2 separate regions of the Homo sapiens genome follow, and region 1 is linked to region 2. Evidence: promoter capture Hi-C in 16 types of primary human blood cells and fetal thymus (Javierre and others, 2016). All regions are on one chromosome and are shown on one strand. Each heading gives the region's core, a stretch centred on a gene start or on the middle of the fragment in contact. The rest is flanking DNA. Distances are from core to core; before and after follow the strand shown.

Evidence for each region. The method cuts DNA at HindIII sites, captures the fragments that hold promoters and counts their contacts. A CHiCAGO score of 5 or more calls a contact.
Region 1: a contact is called between a fragment that was not itself captured here and the fragment with the promoter of PCDHB12 in region 2, in 1 of 17 cell types (M2 macrophages). The highest score is 5.0, in M2 macrophages.

Annotation. Positions count from the first base shown.
Region 1 is chr5:140,957,989-140,964,567 of GRCh38, forward strand. All of the region lies in intron 1 of PCDHA1 (protocadherin alpha 1), which reads left to right. All of the region lies in intron 1 of PCDHA2 (protocadherin alpha 2), which reads left to right. All of the region lies in intron 1 of PCDHA3 (protocadherin alpha 3), which reads left to right. All of the region lies in intron 1 of PCDHA4 (protocadherin alpha 4), which reads left to right. It also overlaps PCDHA5, PCDHA6, PCDHA7, PCDHA8, PCDHA9 and PCDHA10, and 5 more genes. Among named protein-coding and RNA genes, the nearest start is that of PCDHAC2, 5.2 kb to the right of the region's middle. The HindIII fragment of the contact is 1,841 bases long and covers 3,782-5,622 here.
Region 2 is chr5:141,205,855-141,212,424 of GRCh38, forward strand. It overlaps PCDHB12 (protocadherin beta 12), which reads left to right and starts at 2,865. Exons shown (of 1, transcript NM_018932.4): 1 at 2,865-6,570. The coding sequence starts at 3,054. The coding sequence ends at 5,441. It also overlaps PCDHB@. RefSeq lists an enhancer at 4,297-4,886. The HindIII fragment of the contact is 7,272 bases long and covers 1,849-6,570 here.

The DNA.
Region 1 (6,579 bases), core at 3,452-5,951, 250 kb before region 2:
AGATTTTTTGTTTCAATTCTATCAGCCAAGTATACTATGCTTTCTTTGCTTGTGATAGAAAAAAGAGAGAAAAAACACAGAAGCAAAAAGTAAAGTTGTACAATAGTGTGTAGAGTGTGGTTCCATTTTGTAAAATGTATCAGTGTGTATATTTATATAGCATAGTCAAAAGCCTGGAGTGATATAAATTTTCTGTTACTGGTCTAGTATACAAGGGAATTAGATTTTAAAGGACTTTCATTGTTTTTAACAATTCTGAACAAATTTAATTTGGTACAAGAAGTATATATTTTAAATATTATTGAACTTAATTAAAATAAATTAGAGCTCAAAAAATAAATAAATCACAGGAAGTTCACAGTCTGACTTTATCAGGAATGTTGCTATTTTCTTAACAGGTCATCAAACATTATCACTGATGCTTGGAAAGAAGCACTTTTTATAATTTAAAAATACCTTTTATTCTTCAACTTCTGCTGGCTTAAAGAGCACTAAGTCCACATATCCTAGGAGGCATGGCTGTCCAATATATACTATGTGTACATTGATTTATGAACCAATAAATGTTTCATACACAGTTGAGATTTTAAATGAGCTTATGATAATTGGATCAAAGGAATACTAGTCCAGCTTGAGAGTACTGCAGAAAACCAATCACAGAAAGCTATGATGAAATTTTAATTATAAAGGATATTGAATATCCTAGAGTGACAACTCTGTTATAATAAATGTAACACTGAATGGGAAAGAGAGAAAGGAGATTTTTACCCATTTCTGTTTGAAATCAACTTTCTATTTCTAGTAAATTATCACACCATTCTGTTTTAATTTTTATATCTTAAAGTTATCATTCCAGTGTCTTTGGTTTACTGGGTTTATAAAAGAATTGACCAGTAGCTATATAATAGATACAGAAAAGTCTGCCTGGGTGTGGTGGCTCATACTTGTAATAATATTATATTATTATAATTGTTCTATTTTATTATTAGTTATTGTTGCTAATCTTTTACTGTACCTAATTTATACATTAAGCTTTATCATGGGTATGTATGTATAGGAAAAAATGCAGTATATATAGAATTCAGTATTATCCTTGGTTTCGGACATTCAGCAGGGGTCCGAAGGTGGGCGAGGTGAGCCCACTTTGGGAGGCCAAAGTGGGCAGATTGCTTGACCCCAGGAGTTCAGGACCAGTCTGGGCAACATGGTGAAATGCTGTCCTTACAAAAAATACAAAAATTATCTGGGCATGATAGTGCATGACTGTAGTCCCAGCTACCCAGGAGCCTGAGGTGGGAGCATCACTGAGCCCGGTGGTTGAAGCTGCAATAAGTTTTGATTATGCTACTGCACTCCAGCGGGACAACTGAGTGAGACCCTGTCTCAAAAAAAAAAGTCACAAATTAAGATAAAGTGTTGATTGATCTGAGAATTTGTGTATTTTTTTCTATTTTGTGCTGAAAAGCTGAAGTTGGCATCAATCAAGGCATATTGTTATATATGGATCAAACTAAAAAATTTTAAGATCTTTAAGACCATTAATTCAGAGATGCTGTATAAATAGAATCAGTACTAGATTTTTTGTTTCAATTCTATCAGCCAAGTATAACATGCTTTTCTTGCTTGTGATAGAAAAAAAGAGAGAAAAAACACAGAAGCAAAATTGAAGAATTTGTAAATCATTTCTAAATAATTTCAATAAAATGAGCTTTGAAAGGGAAAATTTTTAGATAACATTATCTCATCAAAATGCCTTAAAGTATATTTTAATATTCAGTAAGAACAGTGTATATTAACATGGCTAATTTAGAGGATTTATATTTTACCCACATGATAATGTATTATGCCTGTAACTGCTAAAGGAATTATGTAGCAAAATCTGTCAAGGAATACACGAGTGGGATTTATATCAGAAAAATCAAAGCCATTTGTAAAGCCCCATTACTTAGGCAGAATATCATAGGTAGGAGGTAGATGTTACTGAAAGAAGAAGTTGGGATATGAAATACAAATCTATTTTGCATCATGATTTTGTTAAGTCCGGCTGTTTATTATTAAAAACATGTACAGAAGATTCAATTGAAGTTTCTAAAAGAGAAAGAAACTTGTAGTTGTGGGAACAATAGTATTCCTTATGAAATACTTAGATATTAATAGCTTGAGACTGATAATACAATTCTTAAGTTAGGGGTTGCATGTGTAGTGGTCAGATGTTATTTCAGGATCTCAAGAAACAGAGCCATGGTAAAAAGAAGCTTCCTGGAGCTTCTGATAAATTCCGTCACCTTTTTGGGACCCAGTTTCTTCATCAATACCAACCTCATTAGGGTCCTGTGAGAAGTACATGAGGTGAGATATGTACTGAAATAATATGCCAACTCTTAAGTGCCAAGACATTAGGATGCAAGGGGGGGTGCCCAAAAAGTCAACAATTACTTGATACTCTAGATATATGTATGGATAATTTTGAGAAGTAATCCTTCTTACACAGAGGTGTAGGTTTGTTTGTTCCAAGCAGCAAACATAATGGGTATAGGAAAGAGAAACTGTGGCCTTCATATAGACTGAGCTTAGGAAAACAGTTGGAAAACAGTTCAAATTCAAGGTACTTCAACAATATCTAGTGTGTTTTTGAAATATATTTTTAAAACCCCTATCCAAATCAATGAATGCTTTGGCTAAAACCTACTTGGGAATGAGGGTGTTCTTTAGTGCCAAATACTCATCTTATTTTAGTCCATGATTTTAGTCCATGGCTAAAATCCCAAGAGTTACAGAGGAGAAATAGGGCCAAACAAGGTTTCTATTAAAATAAGAGGTCCCAAGTGATGAATGGAAACTTGGAACAGGTTTAATGGCAACTATAAGCCAGAAATTAGCTGAAATACACACTAATGAATTTGGGGCATATCTTGAGTTTCAGATAGAAAATTGGTACTAAGTTTAGTGAATTAGAAACATAGCTTAACCTAGGCAGTTGCAATTCTTGTTCCAAAAATGCTCAATTTGCTGCTGGACTGCATGGACACTTGCTACCTCCTTGTTTTGAGTCATTAACAAAATGTTGAATGGGATATCTGGAGTATCAAGTAATTGTTGACTTTTTGGTCACCCAACCCCCTTGCATCTTAATGTCTTGGCACTTAAGAGTTGGCATATTATTTCAGTACATATCTAACCTTATGTACTCCTCACAGGACCCTAGTGAGGTTGGTATTGATGAAGAAACTGGGTCCCAAAAAGGTGATGGAATTTATCCGAAGCTCCAGGAAGCTTCTTTTTACCATGGCTCTGTTTCTTGAGGTTAAAGAACATGATTTACCAGGCTCTGTTTCTTGAGAGACCAAGAGTGGATCCCTGTAGTCCCCATTAGAATTCTCCTTCTAGTTTGAACTATTCCATTAGTAAACACTTTTTGGCATGTTATTTAAACAATTACAAAATCACCTAACTACACTGTCTTGCAGCTGCCTTTCTTTTTTTGTCTTGTCCACGTGAGTATATTGGGAGACTTTGTTTAATGTCTCCACAAATTCTAGATAGACTGTTCCTGCAGCATTTCTTTTTTTAAATTTTGTTTTGATAAGCATTTATTTTGGCAATGATTCTAGTAAATGAAACTAAAGTGCCCATATGAAAAACAATCTTAAGTCTATGTGGTTAGTTTGAAGTTACCAGTTTTTAATTAAGCCGGAGTAGTCCTTAGTATGAATGCCTTCATTTCTAAGTGCTCATAAACAATCACTTTAGTAATATTACAGTTTTGAAGGAATTTATATCAAGCTTAATGGCACTTTTTAAAAGATAGGAAATTGGGTTCTCTAGTCACATCTGTAAGTTATTTCAGTGCCTTGGAAGATCATTTATCTGGCCACAGATAATTGACTTACTTACATCAGTTTTTTTTTTTTTTGAGATGGAGTCTCGCTCTGTTGCCCAGGCTGGAGTGCAGTGGCATGATCTCGGCTCACTGCAACCTCCGCCTCCTGGGTTCACGCCATTGTCCTGCCTCAGCTTCCCGAGTAGCTGGGACTACAGGCACCCACCACCATGCCTGGCTAATTTTTTTGTATTTTTTAGTAGAGACGGGGTTTCACCATGTTAGCCAGGATGGTCTCGATCTCCTAACCTTGGCCTCGGCCTCCCAAAGTGCTGGGATTACAGGCGTGAGCCACCACACCCGGCCACTTATATCACTTTTATGCTTCCTATCTCCTTATTGATCTTGAGGTTCAAGTTTCACTTAACCATTTTCTTCAATGAAAAATAATTTTATAATTTAAAAAACCTCAACCTTTAATATTCTATGATTCTTGTTAGGCCATCTCAATTGAGAATACTGATAAAGAAGTAAAACTCCCCCCAATACTGGCTAGTTTGATTTTATCTGTTAATATTACGCAATCTGCCCCAAACCTGTCTCTCCCTTTTTATTGTTACTTATCCAAAGATGGCTTGAATCTCTTATGGCTTGAATCTCTTTGTTTATTCTAAGCAATTTTCAGACACCTCAGCCAACTATCAATAATATATTAGTTTTTTAGAACTAAAAATGTAGAGGATCTCCCCCTAAAAGCCAATTGTTAATGCCAAATATTTGACTGATATATTTCTTCTGGAGGAAGGGAGATGTGAAAAAATTTAGCCATCAAGTTATGTGAAAACTTTTTCATCTTCCCATCCACTGGATGTTTTATCTGTAAATAATGCTATAATCATATTGGAAAGTATTTTCCTTCTGGGGATGCATGAAGATCAGGAATCCTATTCGTTTTTAACAAGATGGAATTTTTAAAAACTACTTTGGACAACTCTAAACATCAGAGATGACCATTTGTCTCTTTTTTATTATATAACTTGTGCTCGGTTTGTAGAGCAACATAAATACATGAATTAAAAAATGAAAACTAGCTCCTTCCCTATTTGACAGATACTTCTCAACCTCCTCTCCATAAGATATGCTCTATCCCTATATAGGAAATTTTTCTGTAGCAGCTTGAGTTTACTAAAAATAAGATCTGAAGAAAATGAAGCAATTAACATTTATTGAGAGTCTATAAGGGTTTCTACATTGTGAAGGAGACAGAAATATAAGACATGGCTCCTGCTTTCAGGTTGCTTATAATTAAAGAGATAATATTAAATTATTTGGATGAATTTAAAAATGACACATGCCATCTTACAGATATGCTGTAGACTGTGAAAATGAAAAAAAAAACCTCGTGTTTAGAGTAGACACTGTTTGATGGATTAGGTAGGTTTTCATCTGGACTTTGAAATGTATGTAAGATTTTATAAGGAGGAGAGAAAATAAGAAGCTGTTTGTATTAGAATTACACAGATAAATTTGTAAATTTAGTTCTTTTCAAAGAACATTAATTGAGCACCTCTGTGCCAAGCTCCCTACTGGATGCTGTAGATTACAGCATGTTTAGGAACTAACTTCATACTCTGTTGCTAAAGTATTTCTGTGTTTTCTAAAAAGGTAAATCTCTTGTGAGGAAACAAATCTCTTGAAGGGGTTCTCATAACAGAAGTCCCATTTACTTCATGATATAAAAAGGGGCTGTTTTCTGGTTTTGTTCTCAAAATGTAGGATATAGTTCTAGACGTAATTGGGAAAGCTTAACTTTGTTGCATACGCATCTTCCCTATCATGGTTGATTTCCTATATGGCATAGTTAAATGTGTTTATCCGTGTTTGATATCTAAAGGGCCATGCTACATATAGACTGCCAACTAAGGTTTTATCTGATGATAATAAATTGTTGTATTTCATGACGACAGCAACAACAACAATAATGTACTTAACTAGTCACTGTGCAAATTGCTTTACATACATTTTCTCATGTAATCATAATAATAACCGTATGAGTTTTGCTTACTATTGTTTTCCTTAATTAAAATGAGTAAAGTGAAGCTTAGGCTAAGTAACATGTCCATAGCCAAACAGTTAGTCACTGGCAGGAGTGTGACTGACTCCAAAGTCTATATTCCTAATTACTGTGTTCTACTTTTTAATAGAGAGCTCTTGAAGGTCCAAGGAAAGGAATGCATAATGGTGTGGTCAAGGCATTAGTGTTAATATTTGTAGAAAGGGTAATTAACAACAGTCTGAGCAATCACATTCTAACAACTAGTAAGGTTGGCAGGAGCCTCAGTATAATGGTGTGAGGAACGAAATCATTATAGTGCCAAATAGAGTATACCATCTCTTTAGTACAATGTCTTTCAAAATGAGGCTGATTGTGTTGGCTTTATATTTGACTCCTTAATAATTAAGGCAGTAAATTCTAGCTGGAGCTAAATACCTACAAGGCCTAAAACAGCATAATGGACAACCTGGCAGGTGTCCTTGCTGGAAGATGACAAGAGTGCTGAAAGGAGAGTCCTGGTTTTTCTCCCAAGACATGACATTTGGGGGCTTCCATTAAAAAATTACCAAGCCTCTGCCACTGTAATCTCTTCCTTAAGTGCCTATGATTTTTTCACAGTCACAGGTCTATGCCTGGTCAATACCCAGTGGCCAGGTCTCTGAGCTGCGTGCAGAGATGGCAGCGACTTGGAGGGCTGGGAGGA
Region 2 (6,570 bases), core at 1,615-4,114:
CTACACAAAAACAATTTGTTAAAAGGAATTTCCTTGGTATGTTTTACTCATAATTTCTCCTCTGAGTTTTCTGGATTCTCACTTCAATGAAAATCTCAGTTAAATATTAGACCTCCTAGATTGACTCTATAAGACTATAAGCCATTTTTCCTTTCTTATTTTCTCTTTGCCTCTCATTCCATTTTTTGGACAATTTATTTAATCACTCAATGTTTTATGTATAAGTTTTTCTTTATGACTGAAAAATATTTACTTTTAAGAGTTGTTTTTGGTTCTCTGAATGTTTTTCATGGCATCCTGTCATAGATTTATAAATGTAATATTTTCTCTCATTTATAATTAATCTTTTCTTTAAAAATGCATTAGGCAGTATCATTATTATATATCCATTTTAAAAGTGAAAGTGAGTCTAAGGGGAGTTAAGAACTTGTCCAAGGTAATATAGCTAGTAAAAAGCACTGAAGTCCTAATCTAGTCTTCATCTTACAATAGGAATATGTACTTCATATAGTTACTATTTAGATTAAGTGGATAAATACATACTTCATACAGCTACTATTTAGATTAAATGGATAAATGCATTATGAGGCACTTAGAACAATGAGTAGCATAGAGTAAATACTAAATAAGTATTAGCTTTTATTAGATTTTCTTTCTCTGGGAATATTAACCAGACATTTTCAAAGGCTTTCTTCTGCTTTCTATATTATTGTTCCTTTTTTTTTTCTTGATGGTAGCGATGGTGGTAGTTTTGGTCTTTCTATGTTATGTTGCAGGCATTTCCTCAAATGCCTTGGCTATCTTCTCGTATTTTAGAAGGATGATATATCAAAATGCTGACAATCAACTCTGTGAGCGAACAGTACCTGTTGATGGCAGGGCTTCATTCTAATATAACCATGCTAGGATAAGTCTATTACCTTATGAGATGCCAAATATTAATATGTGTCTTCATTTGGGCTTTCATATTCTCCAGGTTAGAATTCTACAATATACACTATGGGGATAGACTAGGGGTCAGGCATACACTTTGTGTCCTACAGTCTAAGAGTATTGCATGAAAAGGGATTAGAAGTCTCACCATGCAAAATGCAAAGGTTTGCTTACTCTCCCTATTTTCAGTTTGACACCTCACACTTGTGCTCAGCTGTGCCTAGATCCCCAAGACTAGAGAAAGTCCCATTAAATTTCTCCAGAGAATAAACTTTCTATTTTCTGGCTGTGAGTTATGTTTCCATCTATGTAGGGTGATGAGAAGAACAGAGAATTCAATTATCCTCTACACATACTTCCAACTAATAACTTTTTTCCATCCTTAACTGACTTCAGTCTTCTTAAACATCTGGTTCCTCCAGATCTTGCGCTTAAAAGAGATTATGTTTCTTGTGAGTATCTTCAATGCAGGAACTTTACTTTAGGGGCACTTTTTGGAACTGCTAAGTTAATTGCTCTTCCACCTGCTTTCTGTCATAGAAAAATGTATGTGTTCACTTGTGTATTCTTAATCTTTGTTAGTTCCTACCATTTTAATTACTTTTCTGCCATTTTAGTGCATATTTTTTTTTAAAAAGAGAGGTTAATTGTGTGTGCTCAATTCATCTACTTTTCAAGTTTTACCCTTCTGTACCAATTACTATTTCAACCATGTATCCAGCTTACATTTTTAAGAATATTAATTGAATTTAACATTTTAAAATGCAGACTTGTTGGATTCTTCTCCCATCCATTCTTAGTGCACTTTAAGACTTTCTATAGTGAATATCACTGATGAGCCCTTAGCATCTGTTGCAAACAGTCTCCCTCATTTTGTACCAATGAGGTACTTTGGCTAGGACTGAAACCTTCCCAAGCTTAAGAGGTGGTCCCAGACAGGATTAAAACACAGTAATGGCCAGAGACAGGTCTTTAGATTCTAGGACTAAAATCTCCAACTATAATTCTATACCTCTTGAAACAATGATTGCTTCAGTGGCAGACACATGATCTTACTTGGTCTAATTAGAGTGAAAGTTAGGTTTTTGTTCTATGTTTAGGGATAGACTCTTACTTTCTCTTCCTGGGCTGAAAGAGAAAACAGATAGCTACAGTTGTGGCTACAATAAATTTTGGGAACCTAAGGCAAGTCAGCTTTAGGAATAAGAGTCTGCTTTAAATTAAACTAACTTGCTCATGCTTGTGTACTTATGAATTTTTTTGTAAATTATGAAAAACTGGAACTAAATGATGGGTTTACATAACATGTTCCACCCCAATCTCTTGCTTCATTTTCTGCCTGTTCACAATTCATTGCTATTAAGGAAATCTACAGAAGTGCCTTTTTATGCTGTTGTGTTGACCTATATATGCCTCATCTCATGGTTAATCCAGTTTCATAACTTCAGAAAGGATTTCTGAGATGACCTTTCCTTTACCTTATCACGTAAGGAAAGCCAAGTAGTAATAGAATTTCATTCAGCTTAACAATCACTTATACCCTGCTTGTTTCAGGCTTACAATTGTCTCAGAAACACTATGAATTCCTGGGAGCCAGGGATCACATCTTGTATCTGTGTTTACCACAACTGAACACATTTGGTTGTGAGAAGAGTGGGGAAAGACACTGAATAAATGCTTTAAAACAAAATCATCATCACAAACTATAAAGAATATAAAACGATTATTATGGAAGATAAAATATATTTTTAATTACTTCAACAGAAGGAATTATTTAAACGCAATATTTATTTGCTTCTGGAGGACATTTATGTAAATAAAATTTAGGTAGTGTTCATCAAACTGTGAAAATCTGTGGAGACGCGTGGTGGCGCTGCAGGATAATATCAAGAAAAAAATTACCCTGGAGGATGTTGTAGACCCTGTTATCCAGTACACGCGGAGAACTGGGAAGACAGAAAGAACAATCCTTTAAGGGAGAACCTAGAAGCCATTCAACAAGGTTAAAATCTTCAGGCTTCCGAGGATTTGGTAGACAGATCAGAGGCACGTTTCCCACAACTGCGAAGAGGCGCTGAGGCAATTCTGCAAGAAGATTTTGGGGTTTTGGAAAAGAAGCTATGGAAAACGGAGGGGCAGGCACTCTGCAGATAAGGCAAGTCCTGCTTTTCTTTGTTTTGCTGGGAATGTCTCAGGCGGGCTCTGAAACTGGGAACTTTTTGGTGATGGAGGAATTGCAGAGCGGGAGCTTTGTAGGAAATTTGGCAAAGACCCTGGGACTCGAGGTGAGTGAGCTGTCTTCGCGGGGGGCTCGGGTGGTTTCTAATGATAACAAAGAGTGTTTGCAGCTGGACACAAACACTGGGGATTTGCTCCTGAGAGAAATGCTAGACAGGGAGGAGCTCTGTGGCTCCAATGAGCCTTGTGTGCTGTATTTCCAAGTGTTAATGAAAAACCCCACGCAGTTTTTACAAATTGAGCTCCAGGTCAGGGATATAAATGATCACTCTCCCGTCTTCTTGGAAAAAGAAATGCTCTTAGAAATCCCAGAGAACAGTCCTGTTGGTGCTGTGTTCTTGCTTGAAAGTGCAAAGGATTTAGATGTAGGAATCAATGCTGTAAAAAGCTACACAATAAATCCGAACTCTCATTTCCACGTTAAAATAAGAGTCAATCCAGACAATAGGAAATACCCTGAGTTAGTTCTGGACAAGGCGCTGGATTATGAAGAGCGCCCGGAGCTCAGTTTCATCCTCACTGCTCTGGATGGCGGGTCCCCTCCCAGGTCTGGAACTGCCTTGGTCAGGGTGGTGGTTGTAGATATTAATGACAACTCCCCTGAGTTTGAGCAGGCTTTTTATGAGGTGAAGATTCTGGAGAATAGCATCCTTGGCTCCCTGGTTGTGACCGTCTCAGCCTGGGATTTAGACTCTGGAACAAACAGTGAACTATCCTATACCTTTTCCCATGCCTCAGAAGATATTCGCAAGACATTTGAAATTAATCAAAAGTCTGGTGACATTACTTTAACAGCACCTTTGGATTTTGAAGCAATTGAGTCATACTCAATAATCATTCAAGCCACAGATGGGGGAGGACTTTTTGGAAAATCTACAGTCAGAATTCAGGTGATGGATGTAAACGACAACGCTCCTGAAATCACTGTGTCATCAATTACCAGTCCAATCCCAGAAAACACTCCAGAGACTGTGGTTATGGTTTTCAGGATACGAGACAGAGACTCTGGGGACAACGGAAAGATGGTTTGTTCTATCCCGGAGGACATCCCATTCGTGCTAAAATCTTCGGTAAATAATTACTACACTTTGGAAACAGAGAGACCGCTGGACAGAGAGAGCAGAGCCGAGTACAACATCACCATCACCGTCACCGACTTGGGGACCCCCAGGCTAAAAACCGAGCACAACATAACCGTGCTGGTCTCCGACGTCAATGACAACGCCCCCGCCTTCACCCAAACTTCCTACGCCCTGTTCGTCCGCGAGAACAACAGCCCCGCCCTGCACATCGGCAGCATCAGCGCCACAGACAGAGACTCGGGCACCAACGCCCAGGTCAACTACTCGCTGCTGCCGTCCCAGGACCCGCACCTGCCCCTCGCCTCCCTGGTCTCCATCAACGCGGACAACGGCCACCTGTTTGCCCTCAGGTCGCTGGACTACGAGGCCCTGCAGGGGTTCCAGTTCCGCGTGGGCGCCACAGACCACGGCTCCCCGGCTTTGAGCAGCGAGGCGCTGGTGCGCGTGCTGGTGCTGGACGCCAACGACAACTCGCCCTTCGTGCTGTACCCGCTGCAGAACGGCTCCGCGCCCTGCACCGAGCTGGTGCCCTGGGCGGCCGAGCCGGGCTACCTGGTGACCAAGGTGGTGGCGGTGGACGGTGACTCGGGCCAGAACGCCTGGCTGTCGTACCAGCTGCTCAAGGCCACGGAGCCCGGGCTATTCGGCGTGTGGGCGCACAATGGCGAGGTGCGCACCGCCAGGCTGCTGAGCGAGCGCGACGCGGCCAAGCACAGGCTGGTGGTGCTGGTCAAGGACAATGGCGAGCCTCCGCGCTCGGCCACCGCCACGCTGCACGTGCTCCTGGTGGACGGCTTCTCCCAGCCCTACCTGCCTCTCCCGGAGGCGGCCCCGGCCCAGGCCCAGGCCGACTCGCTCACTGTCTACCTGGTGGTGGCGTTGGCCTCAGTGTCGTCGCTCTTCCTCTTCTCGGTGCTCCTGTTCGTGGCGGTGCGGCTGTGCAGGAGGAGCAGGGCGGCCCCGGTCGGTCGCTGCTCGGTGCCTGAGGGCCCCTTTCCAGGACATCTGGTGGACGTGAGTGGCACCGGGACCCTGTCCCAGAGCTACCACTATGAGGTGTGTGTGACTGGAGGCTCCAGGTCAAATAAGTTCAAATTTCTGAAACCAATTATCCCCAACTTCCTACCCCAGAGCACAGGTAGTGAAGTCGAAGAAAATCCCCCATTTCAGAATAATTTGGGTTTCTGATAAAGAATGAAAAATAAAACCTGTGTTTATGAATACATTTATAATTAGGAACTTATCGTGAGGTGCCTGTAAAGTAGTATTTTTGATCACTTCAAATACATACTCTTCAAGTCAAGAAATAAATTTCTTTACATAGAAAAGGATACAGATTTAGTACCAAGAACACTTCACAAAGCAGGAAATGTGCATGTGTAATGGTTTATGTCAAACAATTATGCTTAATATAAAGTCTATTAAGTGGTAAGTCTTGTTTGAGATATTTTAAATTGCTTTCCATTGTTTTCAATATTTACTGTGACTTTTGTTTTCTGAGTTGATTAGAATGCTGTTCGAGTATACCTACCCTAGTTTCAGAAGCATAGATTGTAGTGTACCTTTTTAAACTTTATTTTTTTAAAAAAAGTTGTTTTATGAATCATACACTATTTTCACACTTTTAATCTCAGAAGAAACATATGTGACATGGTATTTTAGTAATGACCAAATAGACGGTCTTAGAGATTCAGTAAGTTCACTAAGGTCCACTAACTAATAAGTGACAAAACTGAGCATCCATCCTAGATCTGCCTGACTCTAAGTCAGTGACTTTGCTCCCATTCCATACTGTTTTTGTCATTGGATATCACCTGGCAAGTTTCTGCCTAACTAAAGAGAAGAAAAGTTTTTATCGTATTCATACTACTGTTCAATCTTTATTTAGAAATAAACTTTATCTATGATTTCATTTTCTTATAAACCAGTAATCTTGCTTTTCTGGGTAAATTTTCAGCTATTATTACTAATGCTCTGATCTGCCCAAATCTTAAGTAAAAAACAAAATTGAAAGAGCAACCTATGCCTTCTCATTGTCTCCTGAACATATAACTATCATTTCACAGAAAAGATTAATGGTCCTGATTAGGAATAGTACATAATTTTGATGGCATTATTAGTTAATTATTTTCTTTACATTGTAGTATATTTCCAGAGTCACCCATGCTTACATTTGTAATATATTTTCCTGATTTGAGAGTTTGTTTTTAGCAGTTTTTCTTACCTATACTGCACTGCTGAATCAGGAAAATTTAAGAAAAAGAATAGATTTAAATGTGTAATATCAAAGAGAAATATAGATGATCATTAAATTTTT